Linked DNA regions of Homo sapiens: region 1 is linked to region 2. Evidence: promoter capture Hi-C in 16 types of primary human blood cells and fetal thymus (Javierre and others, 2016). All regions are on one chromosome and are shown on one strand. The core of a region is centred on a gene start or on the middle of the fragment in contact, and the rest is flanking DNA. Distances in the headings are between cores, read along the strand shown.

Region 1 (3,269 bases), core at 716-3,215, 350 kb before region 2:
CCGAGAGGTTGTGTGCCAGGCTGCGGAGCTGCAGCTGCACCGTGTGGTTGGTGAGCCAGGGGTAGTTCTGCGCATCCAGCACCAGGAAGTCAGAGGTGTTGACAGTCACTGGCCCATCCTGGTCGATCCAGGTGACATTGGCCGGCGGGTTGGCACGCACCAGGGCAAACAGGACAACCAGGAGGCCTGGGCCCTGAGCTTCCTGGTACTTGGCGCCGACTTGGGCAATCTCTGGCTTGACTGGTACAAAGCAGAGGCCAATATGCTCTCACCACAGCCCCTCATACTTCTAGCCCTTTCTTCCCAAACCCAGATGGGAGCCAGGGGCCTGGGCCTCTCCTCAGAGGGGATGCTGAGGAACAGGATGGCTGGGTCTGCCAGAGAGGCAGCATTTCGGAGTGATTATGAGTGTAAATACTAGAGCCAAATGCCCAGATGTGAATCCTGGCTCTGCTTCTTACCAGCGGGATCATCACCCTGGGCAGATTGCTTACCTCTTTCTGCCTCAGTTTTCTTATTTGTAAAATGGTGACGACAATAGTAATGACCTCATGGGGTTACTCAGAGGATCAAATGAGTTCATATTTGCAAAGTGCTTAAGTGTCTGCTAAATGTCCTGCGGACCACCTGCCTGGTGGGTGCTGGGGGTCCCTGGGCAAAGAACCTATCTCCCTGCCCACCTCAGGGCCACTCACATTGCACATTAAGGATGACAGAGGCGTTGGCTGATCGGCCACTTCTGGGGTCCTGCAGAGAGCAGTTGAGCTCATGCTGGGCCCGATGGGCAGTGACAGTGAAGGTGCTGGTGCCTCCAGAGAAGGCCTCCCCTCCCACGCTCAGCAGTCTTGAGGTGCTGGCCTCCTGCAGCTGTCCATCCAGATACCAGGCCAATCTGGGGGTGCCAGGCCCCCCTGCCACCCGGCAGGTGAAGGCGTGGCGTTCATTCTCCCGAAGTGCCCGCTCAGCCCAGGTCTGACCATCTATTTGTGGCTCCAACTCCCCCCAACCTGGAACACAGCAGGAGGCCTCTGGGAAGGGCTCAGGCACGGTTGGTACTGTGCTGTGACCAGGAATTGGCCCAGTGAGAAGAGCAGCAGGCCAAAGGAAAGGGCACCTGAGTCCTCTCACCAGGGACTGGCTGGTTGGACCTAGGGTAGGTGGGTGAAGGGGACAGGGACTCCAGGGCTTGGGGCCTGGAGTGGGTACCCAAACAGAAGTGCAGACAGGGGAGAGAGGGGGCTTTGGAACCCAGAAGGACTTGGTCAACGACTGAACAGGGGTGTACCTGAGCTCAGAAGGGCTGGCAGGAGCAGCAGTGTGTGCCGGAGGGCGGCTGGGCCTGGAGGCAGCGCCATGGTGGCCCGGGCCTAGGCCCTAGGCTGCTGAGAGAAGGGGGCGGGCCTGTCAGCCAGGTGACAGCAGGCAGGCCTAGCAATTGCTCCAGGAATTTACTCTCCAGAAACAAAAAGAACCATGTACGGAAACGCAAATGTAGACCAGCCCCCAGTGGCGAAGGCACGGACACGAACGGCAAAGCCCAAAGGCACAGACCCACCCAGCAGACACATGGACATCCTGCAGGCGCAGAAGCGAGCACTGACTCCAGGCTACAATACAAAGAGGCACACACCCGCAGATACGCAGAAGCAACGAGCATCCGTGCAACCACACCTTGCACACACGCACACTCACACACATACTCCACGCGCCCCTCCCCCAAAGGGATCGCCTTTCTCCTAATCCTATTCTCTCTCCTGCCCTGTTCCCATCCTCTCTCCTGCCCTGTTCTCTCTCCCATCCCTCGCCCTACGCCCCCTTTCCTGATGTTGGTGGCTCCGGTGGATGTCGGCGGAAGAGGAGAGGGTCGGAGGGTGGGGTCGCCGAGCATCCCGCCCCCGCCCCCCGCCACCGGGGCGGCTCACCTGGCTCCCTCCCCGAGCGCCGCCGGAGCAACTGCTCAGGTCTGATGAGCACCGCAGTCCGCTGCAGGGGCGGGGGCTGCGCCAGGCGGGGCCAATCGATGCCCGACCACGGGCCCGAGGGGCCCTTACCCGGCAGGTGGGCGGCCGCGGCTCACCACCCCCCGGCTGGTCCCCAGCCCGCGCCGAGTACCCCCGAGTGCCCTTCTCTCCGGGCGCGGGCAGGACGCAGGAGCAGGCGGAGTCGGTGAGGCCCGACGGCTTTATTGGTTCAGGGCCCAGTCCCGTCCCCTCGCCCGCGGACGCCCGGGTCCGCGGCGCTCAGCGGCTGTCACGGGGGCGGCGCAGCTGCCCCATCATGTCGGCCAGCATGCGGTTGCACAGCGCGGCGTAGGGGTTGAGCAGCACCAGCTGGCGCCGCGCGAAGGGGCTGCCCAGCCGTGCCGCCCTCTCGAAGTCCCTGCGGGCGTCGTCGTCTCGGCCCTGCAGCCGCGCCAGGAGTCCGCGCTGCACAAAGCTCTGGCGGGCGGCGCGGCCCCGGCCGCCGCTCAGCTCCACCGCGCGTTCCAGATCCTCCAGGGCGCCTGCGGGACCGACGAGACGGGCGGGGCGGGGGTCAGCGGAGGCCAGGGCGGCCTTGCCCGAGCCCCAGCCCACCTGCGGCCGCGCGGATCACCGTGGTTCTTGCGGCTCCCGGGCGTGGCCATTTACAACCCGCCTCGCACCTGCTAGAGGTACGGATCGTTATTCCCATTACACAGATGAAGACTGTGGAAGAGTTAAGCTCTACAGCCAAGCCACTTAGTGGCAGAGCTGGGACTGAAGTCCAGGTCTCGCCTTGTTCCTATTATTTTCCACCGCTAATACACGAAAACATGAACGTTGCAGGATTCTGAATGGCCACTATGTTTATGAGTCTGGCCCACTGCCCGGGCAAGTAGCAGCCAATTTATTCCACACCTGTTATTAAGCATCCACTATGTGCCAGGTGACTGACTCTGAATGTCAGGGTTCAAAAAATAATATTAACCGCACAATCATTTCTTACAAGTACAATCAAGACAGTTTCTCATTGTTTTCCTTTTGAGGGCCGTTTTCTCTTTTCCATTGCTTTCTTTAGAACACCTTCTCTCTCCCCTGTATCCTGGACTGATTGCCTTTCATCATTCTTTGGTTATCTCCATGTATCTAATTTCCTTGGTCCTGGAGCCAGAGCTGGCCTGCACCATTTTTATTGTTATTATTCTCATAAAATACTTGGGTTGGGCCTCAGAACTCTGAACTCAGAACTTCAGGCAGCCAGCCACCTTCTTAAAGTCCACCAGGCTGGCTTCTTTCGGGCTCTGCTTC
Region 2 (3,275 bases), core at 436-2,935:
TTTCTTCCTTCTTCAAAAGAAAAGTTTTAAACATACACAAAAGAAGAGAGAACTATATGACAAACCCTTTACACCCATCACCAGCTAGTTTCAATTATCAAGCAAAACAACTAGTCTCGTGTCACCTATTCTCCCATCTCTTTTTTTCGTTGAATATATATATATGTATTTTTGAGATGGAGTCTCACTCTGTGGCCCAGGCTGGGATGTAGCGGAGTGATCTCGACTCACTGCAACCTCCGCCTCCCAGGTTCAAGCAATTCTCCTGCCTCAGTCCCCCCAAGTAGCTGGGATTACAGGCACACGCCACCACACCCGGCTAACTTTTGTATTTTTAGTAGAGACAGGGTTTCACCATGTTAGGGAGGCTGGTCTCGAACTCCTGACCTCAGGTGATCTGCCTGCCTCGGCCTCCCAAAGTGCTGGGATTACAGGTGTGAGCCACCCCGCCCGGCCACCCATGTGTGTCTTTAACAGATAGAGATGTTAAAGGACAAAACCACATTTTATCAGACCCAACAAAATTAAGAATGATTCATTAATACAATCTACTATGTAGTTCATATTTAACTTTTCCCAATTGTCTCAAAAACTTTTCTTTCCTGTTGATTTGTTTGAATCAGGTTTATCCAAAGGCCTGTGTTACATTCAATTGTAAGATCTCTTGGGTATTTTTCTATCAGCCTGCTTCAACATGTTCTGTTTTCAGAGGAAACGCTAGAATGAGGAAAGCATTACCCCTTGAAAGTCTCTCCAACTCACTTTCCTGAACCCTTTTCAATAACACAAAAACAAGCATCTCCTTTTTTTTTTTAGGTTTTTTTTTTTTTTTTCCCTCTGGAGGCAGGGCCCAGGCTGGAGTGCGGTGCAGTAGCTGGGACAAGAGGCATGCGACATTATGCCTGGCTAAATTTTGTATTTTTAGTAGAGATGGGTTTTGCCATGTTGCCCAGGCTGGTCTTGAACTCCTGGACTCAAGCAATCCATCCGGCCTCCCAAAGTGCTGGAATTACAGGTGTGAGCCACTGCGTCAGCCTGGGGGTGTTTTTAAATGATAAAAGGTGTTTCCCTTTCCAGAATCTTTAAAATAAATGGATTCCTCTAATAGCTTTCAAAATCCAACAATCATCCCAGTGAAGTCAAAAAGCAGGGTTTGTATTATTTCTTGTTTTAGAGGGTAAAAATTTCTGGGATTTTGTTCTTTTCAAAATGACTTTTTTATGCCCTCCCACCTGCTTTTTGAAATCCACCAACCACAATATTTACCCCATCCCCCTTTTCTCTCCCCCCCATCTCTCTCTCTCTCCTTTACACACTCCCTCTCTCTCTCTTTTTAGCAGCAACATACAAGCCGGCCATATTAGAGAGATGGAAATAAAGCTTCCTTAATGTTGTATATGTCTTTGAAGTACATCCGTGCATTTTTTTTTAGCATCCAACCATTCCTCCCTTGTAGTTCTCGCCCCCTCAAATCACCCTCTCCCGTAGCCCACCCGACTAACATCTCAGTCTCTGAAAATGCACAGAGATGCCTGGCTACCTCGCCCTGCCTTCAGCCTCACGGGGCTCAGTCTCTTTTTCTCTTTGGGTAAGTTAGACACATCTGCATGCTCCCGAGGGTTCAGAAGTGTAGCCGCAATGTGAAGAGGATGGGGGCAGGGGATAGGAAAGAAGACATTGCTAGCGCTTTCCCTCTGTGTCCTTGGGAGGGGAGGTGCTGGGGACTGGAAGGGACGTTGCTGGGGAGTGCAGAACCCTGGGACTACTTAGTCACAGAAATGTTGGGTCAGGGGATCTGAGTGTTGCTGGGGGCTGACAATTGTCAAGGGAGGTGAATCTTCTCTGGATTTCCCCTAAGTGGACCTACGTGGCGGTGGGGCAGAGAGTGGATTGACCTGCAGTCTCTTCAGGGATTATTTTTTGGAGTTGCTGCAAATGCGGGGTCCTGGGACTTAATGCTCCCTTAAGGGGCTTCTTTTCAGAAGCTTGATCCTGGTGGATTTAGGGTATTAGGAGAGTGTGCAGGGGAGCTGGTGGCAGAAAGTTGAGTCTGGGTCTGGCTTCTTGGCACTCGGTCTCACTGATCTGTTGGAACGTGTGTGGGAGTAGGTGGGAAGCGGGCTTGGGGAATGATGTCTGGGTTGGGAGGAGACCTGCTGAGGCACGCACTGATGGAGAAGGCACCTTTGGCTTGGGCCGGATGGAATGGAGGAAGGGCCAGGTGTAGAGATTCAGGAAAAAAATGGAACCCACAGGCTGAGCGAGGTTGCAGCCCTTTAAATCCAGCCTCAGAACTGCCCAGCCCAGTCTTGCAGACTGTCCTGTCAAGTGTTTGTATTTGACCACTCAGAGACTTCCTGGTGGGGAAGTGGGCTAGAAAGTTATTTGCAAGCCTGCTTTGTAGAGTTTCATTCTTGCTCCTAAACTTACTTATTGCTGGAGCAGCAACTGAGAGTCAAGTCCAAGGACTGTTGATGGAACTATTCCCCACCACAAAGGCTCTCTCTCTTTCTGTGGTGTGATGTGCTGGGTTTGGAGTAGGAGTGCTAAACACAGACAGTGCAGAGGCCCTGCCAGCCTGCTTTGCTGAGTTACTTGGCATATTAACATCAGAGCAGGAATGCTATGGAATCTCTGGCAGGACCTGGGTTTCAAGCCACCTTTGTCATTTACGTAATGATCACAGGCAAGTTACTCAACCCCTCTGAGCTTCAGTTCCCTCCCGGGTAAACTAAAGAATGCCTACTGCCTGACGTGTTTGTGATTTGGTGCATGGCAGGAACTCAACGATGGCTAACATAAGAATGCTTTTCGTGAGCCCAGGCACTGTGTATCTTGTTTAGCCCTCACAGCAATCGGAGGTAGATTCTATTATACTCAGGTTACAGGGAGGAAACAGATGACTATGGTAACGGGAGCTGAAATTTGAACTCCCTGTGTCTGACTTCAGCACATTCTCTTAAACGTTGGATTCCACTCCCCAATGTTCAAGAAATGGCACTGCTATATTAACAGTACCTAATTGATCAGAGTCTCAGGACAGGCTGAAAGAAGGGGAGTTGGGTGAGTGGCCTGTTGTAAGGAGGCCCAGCTGGAGGACAGGACCCTTTCCTCAGGAGTTAGGAAGCACTTCGTGCAGGAGAGAAGCCGCCTGGTGAGAGCCATGGCTAAGTAAAGATAGAAAGGGGGCTCAGTGACCAGGACCCAGAGCTCTGGGCTAGGGTGAGGAAGAGGGAGTCTGCGATGAAGAGGTCTGAGTGTTTGGGGTGGGGAGA

What was found. The method cuts DNA at HindIII sites, captures the fragments that hold promoters and counts their contacts. A CHiCAGO score of 5 or more calls a contact.
Region 1: a contact is called between the fragment with the promoter of TMEM25 here and a fragment that was not itself captured in region 2, in 3 of 17 cell types (activated CD4 T cells, total CD8 T cells and fetal thymus). The highest score is 7.0, in activated CD4 T cells.

Annotation. Positions count from the first base shown.
Region 1 is chr11:118,529,888-118,533,156 of GRCh38, reverse strand. It overlaps TMEM25 (transmembrane protein 25), which reads right to left and starts at 1,965. Exons shown (of 9, transcript NM_032780.4): 1 at 1,923-1,965; 2 at 1,286-1,382; 3 at 696-1,007; 4 at 1-240. The coding sequence starts at 1,355. It overlaps TTC36 (tetratricopeptide repeat domain 36), which reads right to left. Exons shown (of 3, transcript NM_001080441.4): 3 at 2,164-2,503. The coding sequence ends at 2,241. It overlaps TTC36-AS1 (TTC36 and KMT2A antisense RNA 1), which reads left to right and starts at 2,382. Exons shown (of 3, transcript NR_120574.1): 1 at 2,382-2,653. RefSeq lists silencers at 1,718-1,817, 1,848-2,287, 2,408-2,687, 3,209-3,269. The HindIII fragment of the contact is 5,363 bases long and covers 1-3,269 here.
Region 2 is chr11:118,174,675-118,177,949 of GRCh38, reverse strand. SCN2B (sodium voltage-gated channel beta subunit 2) reads left to right here and starts at 1,311. Exons shown (of 4, transcript NM_004588.5): 1 at 1,311-1,588. The coding sequence starts at 1,519. The HindIII fragment of the contact is 605 bases long and covers 1,383-1,987 here.